2 separate regions of the Homo sapiens genome follow, and region 1 is linked to region 2. Evidence: promoter capture Hi-C in 16 types of primary human blood cells and fetal thymus (Javierre and others, 2016). All regions are on one chromosome and are shown on one strand. Each heading gives the region's core, a stretch centred on a gene start or on the middle of the fragment in contact. The rest is flanking DNA. Distances are from core to core; before and after follow the strand shown. Region 1 has its middle 13 kb from the start of PSMG4. Region 2 holds the start of SERPINB1 (serpin family B member 1).

Region 1 (4,856 bases), core at 1,169-3,668, 400 kb after region 2:
AGGAAAGACTATAGGTGTCAATTTTAGATCTGGAAACCAATCCTTGACAGCTATTCATGACTCTGCACCCCTCCAACGTCTTCATGTCCCCAGTCTACTAGCTTCACTTTGAAGCCCACTGTTATAGCCCAGTCGCCCAATGAGGGAGAGGAAATCTCTGTGAGTCCCAAATGCTAAGTCCTGGAAAAGGGATTCTGTTGGCTCCAGTCTCTGGGTTGGAAACTTAGAATCTTCAGTCTCCTGGATGAGCACTTTGAGGAGCCCACTGTGGCAAACGTGGGGTGGCAGAAGGGGTCTCTTCTAGAAAAGTGTTCGTGGCAGGGCACAGACAAAGTTGGAGTGTGGTAGGTTGGGAGGCTGGGGGTCGGGAGCCCTCCAACTACTATAGGGAATTTTCATTTCCAGCTGTGAGAAGACAGTTTACCCTAGCATAAAGCCAGATTGTAGATCATTTAACTTTAACGGCGATTAGAGTTTGTTTGTTTGCTTTTTGAGATAGGGTCTCCCACTGTTGCCCACAGTGACGCCATCTCAGCTCACTGCAGCCTCAACCTGCTGGCCTCAAGTGATCCTCCCACCTCAGCCTTCTGAACAGCTGGGACTACAGGTGCATGCCATGATGCCTGGCCAATTGTTTTTTATTATTATTTTTCGTAGAGACAGGGTCTCACTATGTTGCCCAGGCTGGTCTTGAACTCCTGAGCTCAGGTGGTCCTCCTGCCTCAGCCTCCCAAAGGGCTAGGATTACAGGCATGAGCCACCACACCCCAACCTACCTATTAGAATGGAAAGATTCTGCCAGGATTTTATGAGTCTGTTTTCTCTGCTCTCAGCTCTGTCTCAGCCATGAAGTCTGGAAAGATAAAGGAGGAATCAGTGAAGGTGCCATCTCTCCTCTCAGGTTCCCTTCCACTCTGCTCCAAGAATTTCCATGATGAAGAGAGCTGGCTGGAGGGCAGGATTCAGGTGGTGACTTACTCATTCTTCAGCCTCAGATAGGCTTTGCTCCAAGCGCAGGGCAGCACCTGGGAGGCTGTGGGAGCTCTTTCAGTCAGCAAGTAGGCAAGTACATTGTATTATATGCAGAGGTGTTTTGTTTATGGGTGTTGTGCTATTGTTGTTGTTGGACTAAATACAAGGTCCTATAAAAGGCCCAGAGGGAAGGGGTAAGCTGGGCAGGGTATAACAGAAGCAGTGGGTGACATCATCAGGCATGCTGCCACATTCTCTCTAACCTGGAGAGAACCTTAAATACACACTTCCGAGACGAACCCAGATTGCACAAACAAAACAGAAGAGCCAAGTGGGAAGAGCATAGCATTTGGAATCAAATGGCACACTAAAAAAAAAGGCGGAAACAAGGAATATTAATACCTCCCGATATGGTTACTGTCAACACCTAAAGCTCATAAATGCAGTTCCTGACACAGGGTAGGTGCCCAGTGATTGGAACAGTTATCATCAGTGTTATATTACACAATGGGTGTCAGTCTCAGTCCATTTAGGTTGCTATAACAAAGTATCTTAGACTGGGGAATTTATAAACAACAGAAATTTATTGCTGATAGTTCTGGAGGCTGAGAAGGCGCCCGCAGATTCCATGTCTGGTGAGGGCTCTTTGCTTCGTGGCACCTTGTTGTTGTGCCCTTATGTGGCTGAAGGAGAAAGCAGCTCTCTGGCGCCTTTTAATTTTTTTTTTTTTTTTTGGAGATGGAGTCTTGCTCTGTCACCTAGGCTGGAGTGCAATGACGCAATCTCGGCTCACTGAAACCTCGGCTCACTGCAACCTCCACCTCCTGGGTTCCAGAGATTCTCCTGCCTCAGCCTCCCAAGCAGCTGGGACTATAGGTGTGTGCTACCATGCCCAGCTAATTTTTGTATTTTTGGTAGAGACGGGGATTCACCATGTTGTCCAGGCTCGTCTCGAACTCCTGACCTCAGGTGATCTACCTGTCTCAGCCTCCCAAAGTGCTGGGATTATAGGCGTGAGCTATTGCACCCAGCCTGGGGCCTTTTTAATAACAGCACTAACTTCCCAAAGGCCCTATCTCTTTATCCCATCACCTTGGGGGTTGGAGGGAAAAGTCTAGGAGTCAGGACTGAGAAGACGGATCTGCACTTCAATGCCATCGCCATGGAAGAAAGCACTAGGAGCTACGTGGAATGAGTGGGAAAAGCGCAGACTTTATGCCAGGAATCCTGGTTTCACTCTCAACCCACTGCATGGACCCGGGGGCAAGTTACACAACTGGTCTGATGTTTGGCCTCCTCAGCCTGACTTTGAAATAATATCTTCCTCATGGGGTTACTGTGAGGGATAGAAATGGTTTAAAGAAGGACCTAGGATAGTACTAGGCATAGAGGAGGCAATGGCTAAGTCATGGTTCCTACCATGCTGAGAAGCTGGGGATGGTGGGTTCTTAGCAACAGCTTCAAGAGAGGAGTGTTCAGAAATTGGGCTACTTACCCAACAGGGCTCTTGGAAATGAAATTGATTCATAAGACTGAAAAATTATAAAATAAGATATTTGTAGAGTCGGTAACAATCTGTGAATTATTTTGGGTTATTGGAGGAGGACCTGTTATGGTTTGGGCAGCAAAGTATACAGAATCTCATTAGGGTGATGGGACTTCTTGGTTAAAAATATACCTAAGATGACAGACCTTCCAGGCCAGGGTTGCTTTTTATTTATTTATTTTTTATGTTTTTATTTATTTTTTTGAGACGGAGTCTTGCTCTGTCACCCAGGCTGGAGTGCAGTGGTGTGATCTTGGCTCACTGCAACTTCCGCCTCCCGGGTTCAAGCGATTCTCCTGCTTCAGCCTTCCAAGTAGCTGGGATTACAGGCATCCGCCACCATGCCCAGCTAAATTTTGTATTTTTAGTAGGGACAGGGTTTCACCATGTTGGCCAGGCTGGTCTCGAACTCCTGGCCTCAAGTGATCCGCCTGCCCCTGGCTCCCAAAGTGCTGGGATTACAGGCCTGAGTCACTGCGCCCAGCCCCAACTTTTTAAATTTTAAAATTTTCATTGTGATAAAAACCACATAGCATAAAATTTGCCACGTTAACCATTTCTAAGTGCACAGTTCAGTGGCATGAAGCATGGGGGTGCAACTGTCACCACCGTCCATTCCAGAACTTTTCATCTCCCCAAACTAAAACTCTGTCCCCATTAAACACCAATTTGCTGTTCCCGCAGCCCTTGGCCACTCCCATTCTACTTTCTGTTTTTTTATGTGAATTTAATTACTCTAGCCACCGCCTATGAGTGGACTCATACAGTATTTGTCCTTTTTTGTCTCTCACTTAGCAAATGTCCTCAAGGTTCATCCATGCTGTGACCTGTGTGAGAATTCCCTCTCTTTATAAGATAAGATTGCCTTTGTAAGTGGGTGCCCCAGGCGTTCAGCTGAGGGTTTTTCCATAGGATCTGGTCAACTGGGAGCATTTTGCTGAATTTAGTTCTGCTTTTTCCTGTACCCCCGATGCCTTCCTTACCTTGGCATCGCTGTCCTGATTCCTGTACCAGCTTCCTAACCTGCTCCATCCTGTGCTCTCCCGCCTTTGTGCTCAGTCTTGCCCCCATCTTCTAATCACCTTGCAGTTCCCAGAGCTGCTTGTGTCTCTTACCTGTTCATCTGGGCCCGGCGTGGTGGCTCACGCCTGTAATCCCAGCACTTTGGGAGGCCAAGGCTGGTGGCTGGCTTGAGCTCAGGAGTTGGGGATCAGCCTGGGAACACAGTGAGACTTTGTCTCTACAAAAAATAAACAAAATTAGCCAGGTGTGGTGGCATGTACTTGTAGTCGCAGCCACTTGGGAGGCTGAGGTGGGAGGATTACTTGAGCCCAGGAGGTCAAGGCTGTAGTGAGCTATGATCACACCACTGCACTCTAGCCTGGACAACAGAGTGAGACCCTGTCTCAATTTGGAAAAAAAAAAGGTGCACTGACCACGGGTGTCCAGCATTCCAGAAGCCCACTTGGTGTTCTCCTCATCTCCTACCCCAACAAGCAGCTACTGCCTTGCCCTCCAGCAGTAGGTGTTAGCTCTGCAGGCTTCAGGAGTTGATAGAAATGGAATCCGACAGTATGTACTCCGTGTACATTCTTTTTGTGAGACTCACCCGTGTTCTCGCACATTCCATAAGCATCCCATGCATTCCTAGCTCCTTTAGATGCTGTGAACTGGGGACGGTTGACTGTGTCGTATTTATGTGTGTGTCTGCCTCCCGGTTCCAGCGGAGGGCGAGGCGGGGGTCATCGTTCTGAAGGGCATCTTTGTGTCTTCCCAGCACTCAGGACAGTGCCTGGCACACAGATGCTTCAGTAAATGTTTGCCGAGTGAACCCGATGAATGGGCATTTTGTCACTGGGTCTTTTCATTTATTCCTTGGCTTGCTCCCTGTCTCCCCTTGAAACACAGCTGCTTTCATTGACCGCGTCTTTATTTGTTGGGTGGATGTGCTTGTTTTCAGTGCCAGGAAGGAAAAACAAGCACAGAAGTCGCCCCTCCCGGGCAGCCATATTCCCGGCTAAGAAGCCCTCCTTTGTGCCAAGAGCAGAACCGTCTATGGCTGGGTGGAGGGTCACAGCCTGTGGGACGGTGCGGAGAGGCAGGGGGGTGCGGCGAGCTCTGGGCTTGCAGGCAGGCGGTGACTCATGCAGAGTCCGGCCACCGGTGCGGGAAAAGGGCTTTGACGTTCTCAGCAAAACCCCAAGGCGAGCTCCGAGCAGCCCACCTGCCCCTCCCACCCACGCAGGGCCTTGCAGATGAATCTGCTTCTGTATCACATGATCCGTTTCAGCAGGAGAGAGACGGAGAGAAACAGCCTTTTGTTCTGCCAGCCTCCATG
Region 2 (5,182 bases), core at 1,287-3,786:
TTACTCACCGAGATATGGAATGTTTGCACTGTGCCTATGCTCCATCTGCTTTAATGGAAATGGGGGAGGAGTCCTTAAAACTATTCTTTGCTGAGGTTTTAAAGTCCCTGGAAAACCTCAAGCTAGGAACTGATATAACCCTGCAAGAAGCAACTAACAATTAGTAACAGAGGTTTTTTTTTTTTAATGGATTTAAAAAAAACATTTAAAATGCTTTCATATCTAAAGTGATGAGTAATAGAAGTTTCGCAGCCCCTTGAACTTGAATCCCAGGCTGCACCTTGCCAAGGAACAGGTGCAGTGTAATTTGCGGCAGGTATGTTAGAAGAGCCTCCACTTTTACCACTCCTTTCTGCTGAGCTTAGAGAGAGAGAGCTAGAGTTCTCTTCTCAGAATTAAAGAGTACCAAGCACAGAAGTCCTCTCCATGTCCATTATGGACAAGAAGGAAGGCTGGGCATGAGAGTGACCTGTCACATCGCCAAGGGCTGGGTCCCGCCCCTGAAGCTGCGGGTCTCCCCCTCACCTCCCCTGCAGGGCGTGCTATGCCACAGCCCACTGAGCCATGCGCAGCACCCTGGGACTACAGAACCACAGGGTCACTTTTTCTCTTTTCCTTGCAAAAAAGCAATGCCACTATCTCCACTATAATGCATTCCCTATGTCTTATTCCTCTCATTATGCTTGAAAGTAGTGTTATATAACAGGCAATATTTATGAGTTGCATATCATCATATGCAAAGCAAAAACTGGAAGATGCTAGCTCAGGAGGATGTAGTATGCCTTTCAGGAAAGCTGTCAGATTCATCCACTGGAACAGAAGCCTCGCCCTGCAGGGATTTTTGTCAGCTTTGCTCACTGCTGTCTCCTCAGCAATACGAAAAACAGTTCCTGGTACGTGGTAGGTACTTAGGAAAAACCTGATGATGAATGGAAGCCTGCATACAAGTGTGACTTTTCTGAAAGTCTGATCTCATAAAAATACAGTTCTGAAAACACAAGGTAAGAGCTCAAAGGCACAACCTTTCCATGCAGACTGTCCATTCGTAGGGAGATGGGAGGAAAGCAGACCCTTTTTTTTGTTTCTGCTGACCTTGGACAGCTGTGCTGCCGTGTTACCTCTGGTCCCCAGAAAAACCATGGCCATAGCAGATGAAATGCTGAAGGGAGAGATGAAGATGTTTCCAGCCGGATTGTTCTCACTCAACGCCAGGAACAGGTCCAAGGCGAAGCGGGTGTTTGCTGAGCTCAGCTGCTCCATGGTGAAAACTGCAACACAGAACAGGGTCCTCATGGTGCCCACTGCCCACGCCAGCAGATTAGGCAGCACTATTTCTCCAGAAGCTTCCTCAATTTCTGCCAACCGCCCTGAGGCATCCTGGATCTTGTACTTTCTCCCCGCTTTTTTATTCCAGCAGGGCAAGAACACTTTCCCAGGCCCACAAATGTGGGACCATTCTGGCCAAGGACTCAGCAGTTATAGGGGATTTTAGGGCACCCAGGGTGCCCTAAAGGGCTCTGACCTTGCAGACAGGTGAGTCTGGGGGTGGGGCGGGGGTAAGGCAGGCCCCAGCTACCCCAGCTTTAGTGGGGTGGGAGGGCCCACCCAGCCCTGGGTCTTCCCAACCTATGTGTGGGAGCGCACGTGCTTCTGAGCCTTTGATTCAAGTCTCTGATTCATTGGGCAATGAATCCATTGCCTACCTTCACCTGAACTAAGAGCCTTCTATCAGAGACTCAGCTACCTACTATGCATTAAAACTCCAGCAAAGGTATCACTGTAATTATTATAATAATATAATTCTTCCTTATTTTTGAGGTTCAAAAGGTATGAGGTCCAGTGCCCACAGTCTCAGAGCCGGTGTAGGATGTGCCAGTTTGGAAACCCACCACAGTCCAGGGTCTGGCCGTGCAGCGTCCCATCCGCCACCCACTAGCCCATCTCGATCTCCACTCTCAGAGCCCTGATTTCCCCCGAGGACAGGCAAAGAAGAACCGTGCTGGCTGCTCGGCATGTAAGCACAAAGCTGATTTCTCCTTGTTGTGAAATCGTCTCTAGAATCGCACGGGGTTCCTCCTCTCTCTCCCTGCAGCTGCAGATAGGAGCCGCGGCCTGGCCCTGGGCTGCCTGGAAACCGTCACAAACAGCTCTGGGAGGAAGGGAATTCAGGGAGAAGGGACAACATTCTGATCTCAGGTTTCAGTCTTGCCTTCCGCCTGCATCTGTCGTCCTCCCTCCCTCCCTCCCTCGCGGGCTGGCCCGGCCTGTACCCAGGCGGGGGCGGGGGATCAGAGGTCGTCTGTCTCCGTCGGGGCGCCCGGAAGGGATGGGGGCGCGAAGCTGGCGGGGAGGGCGAGCGCAGGGAGCTGCGGGTCTGAGGGGCCTGAGCCTGGGGGGTGGGGGGTGCCGGGCTGGAAGCTGAGCGAGGGAGCCTGGCCTCTCCCCGCGCCCGCCCCCGCGCCACCGCTCCGAGGCCCGGCCTTACCCGACAGGCCGCCGAGGCACGCTCCGGGCTCCGAGCTGGGTGCGAGGTCAGGAAGGAGGCACCGAGGGCCGCTGCTCTTATAGCAGGCGGAAGCGTCACCCGGGCCAGCAGCCGCGGGCGGGGCGGCGGCCCTTCCCGGTGACTGCGTAGGAGTCCGAGCTCCCGAGGTCGCCTAAGTGCAAGCAGAAGTGAGCGTGGCTTCCGGGCAGCGCCCTCCTCAGGGGCGCGGCTTCTTTCTCAGTTCAAAGCCTTTCCCCGAATCTCTGGCAAGGACCTGAAAAGCTTTTTCTTACTAAGGTGTGAATGACTGAGACGACATATTGTGACACCTCTTAGAGGGCAAATGACTCCCTTTGAGTCCCATCTATATTGGGAGCTTTCTTTGAGAGAAGGAAGCAAATTTGGGGATCTTGCACAGGGAAAAAGAGGGGCCCCCAGAATCAGATGAAACAGAACCAGTTCCAAACACCTGCTCTCTGTTTCCAAGATGACAGCTTGCTGCTGCGTCCTCAATGGTGGAAAGTGGAAGGGCAAAAGGGGCCAAATCTCATGTGAAGTCTCTCGTATAAGGGGCCAATCCCATTCATGAGGAAGGTGCCCTCATAATCCAGTCACCTCCTAAAGGCACCACCTGTTAGTATTGCATTGAGGATTGTTTCAGCATGAATTTTGCAGGGAACACAGACATTCAAAGCATAGCATTCTGCCCCTGCCCTCCAAATTCATACCCCTCTCACATGCAAAATGCATGCATTGTATCCCAGTGGCCTCCAAAGTTCCAGTATCAACTTTAAAATGTAAGTCCAAAGTCTCACCTAAATATCTTCTAAATTAGAAAGGCATAAGATTCAAAGTACAATTCATCCTAAGTGAAATTCCCCTCCAGCTATGAGCCCGTGAAATCAAATAGGTTACAGGCCTTCAAAATACAGTGATGAGACAGGCATAGGACGTACATTCCCATTCCCAAAGGGAGAAGCAGGCAAGAAGAAAGGAGTATCTGGTCCCAAGTAAGTCCAAACCCAACAAGGCAAACAGCATTAAATCTTGGGGCTTCAGAATAATCTTCTTTGATGCTGTGTCCCCCATTCCGAGCACAGGGGGGTGGAGACTGGGTCCCCTAGTGTCCAGGGGATCCACTCCCATGGATTTGCCAGGTGCAACCCATGCAGCAGCTCTCACAGGTTGAGGTCTAGGCTCTCCCAGGATAGACTTGCATGCTGGTGGCTGGACAGTTCTGGGTTCTCAGGGACAGCCCTGTTCCCACAGCTCCACTAGATATTACTCTATTTGGGGCTCTCTGCAGTGGCCCCAATCCCACTGCTCCACTAAACATTGCCCTAGTGAGGGTTTTCTGCAGCAGCCTCACCTCAGTGACAATTCTCAGACTGGGCCCCCAGGGTCCCCAACACATCCTTCAAAATCTAGGTGGAGGTGGCTGTGTCTCCACAGTTCATGCACTCTGTGCACCTGCAGAGTTAGCATCACGTGGACTCTGCCAAGGCTTACAGGAAGGGTGGCCTGACAAGGGCCTGCATAAGCCACACGTGGGATGGTGGCCAAAGAGTGCTGCACCAGAATGTGGGGGGTGGGGGGGCAGAGACTTGAGGCAGCCCTAGGCAGCAAGCCCCAAGGTTCCATGGTGTCCTGAGTCCTCCCTTAAAACTATTCTGCCCTCAGGGTCCTGGCACTCTGGGACAGGGATGAGAATCCAGAACCAGTAACCTCAGAAATGCCTTTGGGTTCATTCTTCCATTGTCTTGATAAATAGCATCTGGCTTCCTTCTACACATACTCATCTCATTATCAAATGTGAACCTGGCAGCACTCTTGGTGTTCCCTCCCAAACATGCCTTTTCATTCTTTACATGGCCAGGCTGAGAATTTTCCAAAACTTTAAGCTCTGCTTCCCTCTTGATTATAAACTTCGTTTTTAATTCATTCTCTCTGCTCACATTTTACTACAAGCAGTCAAGAGAAGCCATGCTGCACTCTCAACGCTTTGCTCAGAGATTTCTTCCATCAAATATCCTAGTTTATTGCCTTTAAGTTCTGCCATTCAGAAAACACTAGGACATAGACACAATTCAGCCAAGTTCATTGCCACTGTGTAACAAGGATGACCTTTCCTCCAGTTTCCTTTTAAGATCTCATCAAAAGTGTCTTTACCATCTATACTTCTAACCGCATTCTGATCAAGACCAGACCACTTAATTAATCTCTAAGATGATTTAGGCTCTCCCTACAGCTCTCCTTGTCTTCTGAGCCCTCACCCTTAATTTCCCTTAAAGCTCTGTTTATGTCTATACAGGCTTTTTCCAGCATGCATCTCCAAATTCTTCCAGCCTCTACCCATTACTCAGTTTCAAAGCTGTTTCCACATATTTAGGTATTAGTTATAGCAACATCCCATTCTCAGTATCAATTTCTGTCATAGTCCATTTGTGCTGCTATAAATACCTGTGATTGGGCAATTTATTAAAAACAGAAATGTATTGCTCACAGTTCTGGAGGCTGGGAAGTCCAAGAATAAGGCATCCACATATTTGGTGCCTGGTGTGGGCTGCTCTCTGCTTCCAAAATGGCACCTTGTTGCTGCATCCAAGGGGGAAATATACTGTATCTTCACGTGGCGGTGGGAGGGATGGAAAGGGATGAACGCACTCCCTCAAGGGCCCAAATCCCACCCATGACGGT

Evidence for each region. Contacts are between HindIII fragments. The CHiCAGO score rates a contact against its expected background, and 5 or more counts as called.
Region 1: a fragment that was not itself captured here is called in contact with the fragment with the promoter of SERPINB1 in region 2 in 1 of 17 cell types (activated CD4 T cells); the score reaches 5.6 in activated CD4 T cells.

Annotation. Positions count from the first base shown.
Region 1 is chr6:3,243,192-3,248,047 of GRCh38, forward strand. No RefSeq gene overlaps it. Among named protein-coding and RNA genes, the nearest start is that of PSMG4, 13 kb to the right of the region's middle. RefSeq lists an enhancer at 3,904-4,469. The HindIII fragment of the contact is 4,996 bases long and covers 1-4,856 here.
Region 2 is chr6:2,839,327-2,844,508 of GRCh38, forward strand. It overlaps SERPINB1 (serpin family B member 1), which reads right to left and starts at 2,537. Exons shown (of 7, transcript NM_030666.4): 1 at 2,486-2,537; 2 at 1,093-1,268. The coding sequence starts at 1,260. RefSeq lists a silencer at 2,432-2,481. The HindIII fragment of the contact is 1,424 bases long and covers 1,342-2,765 here.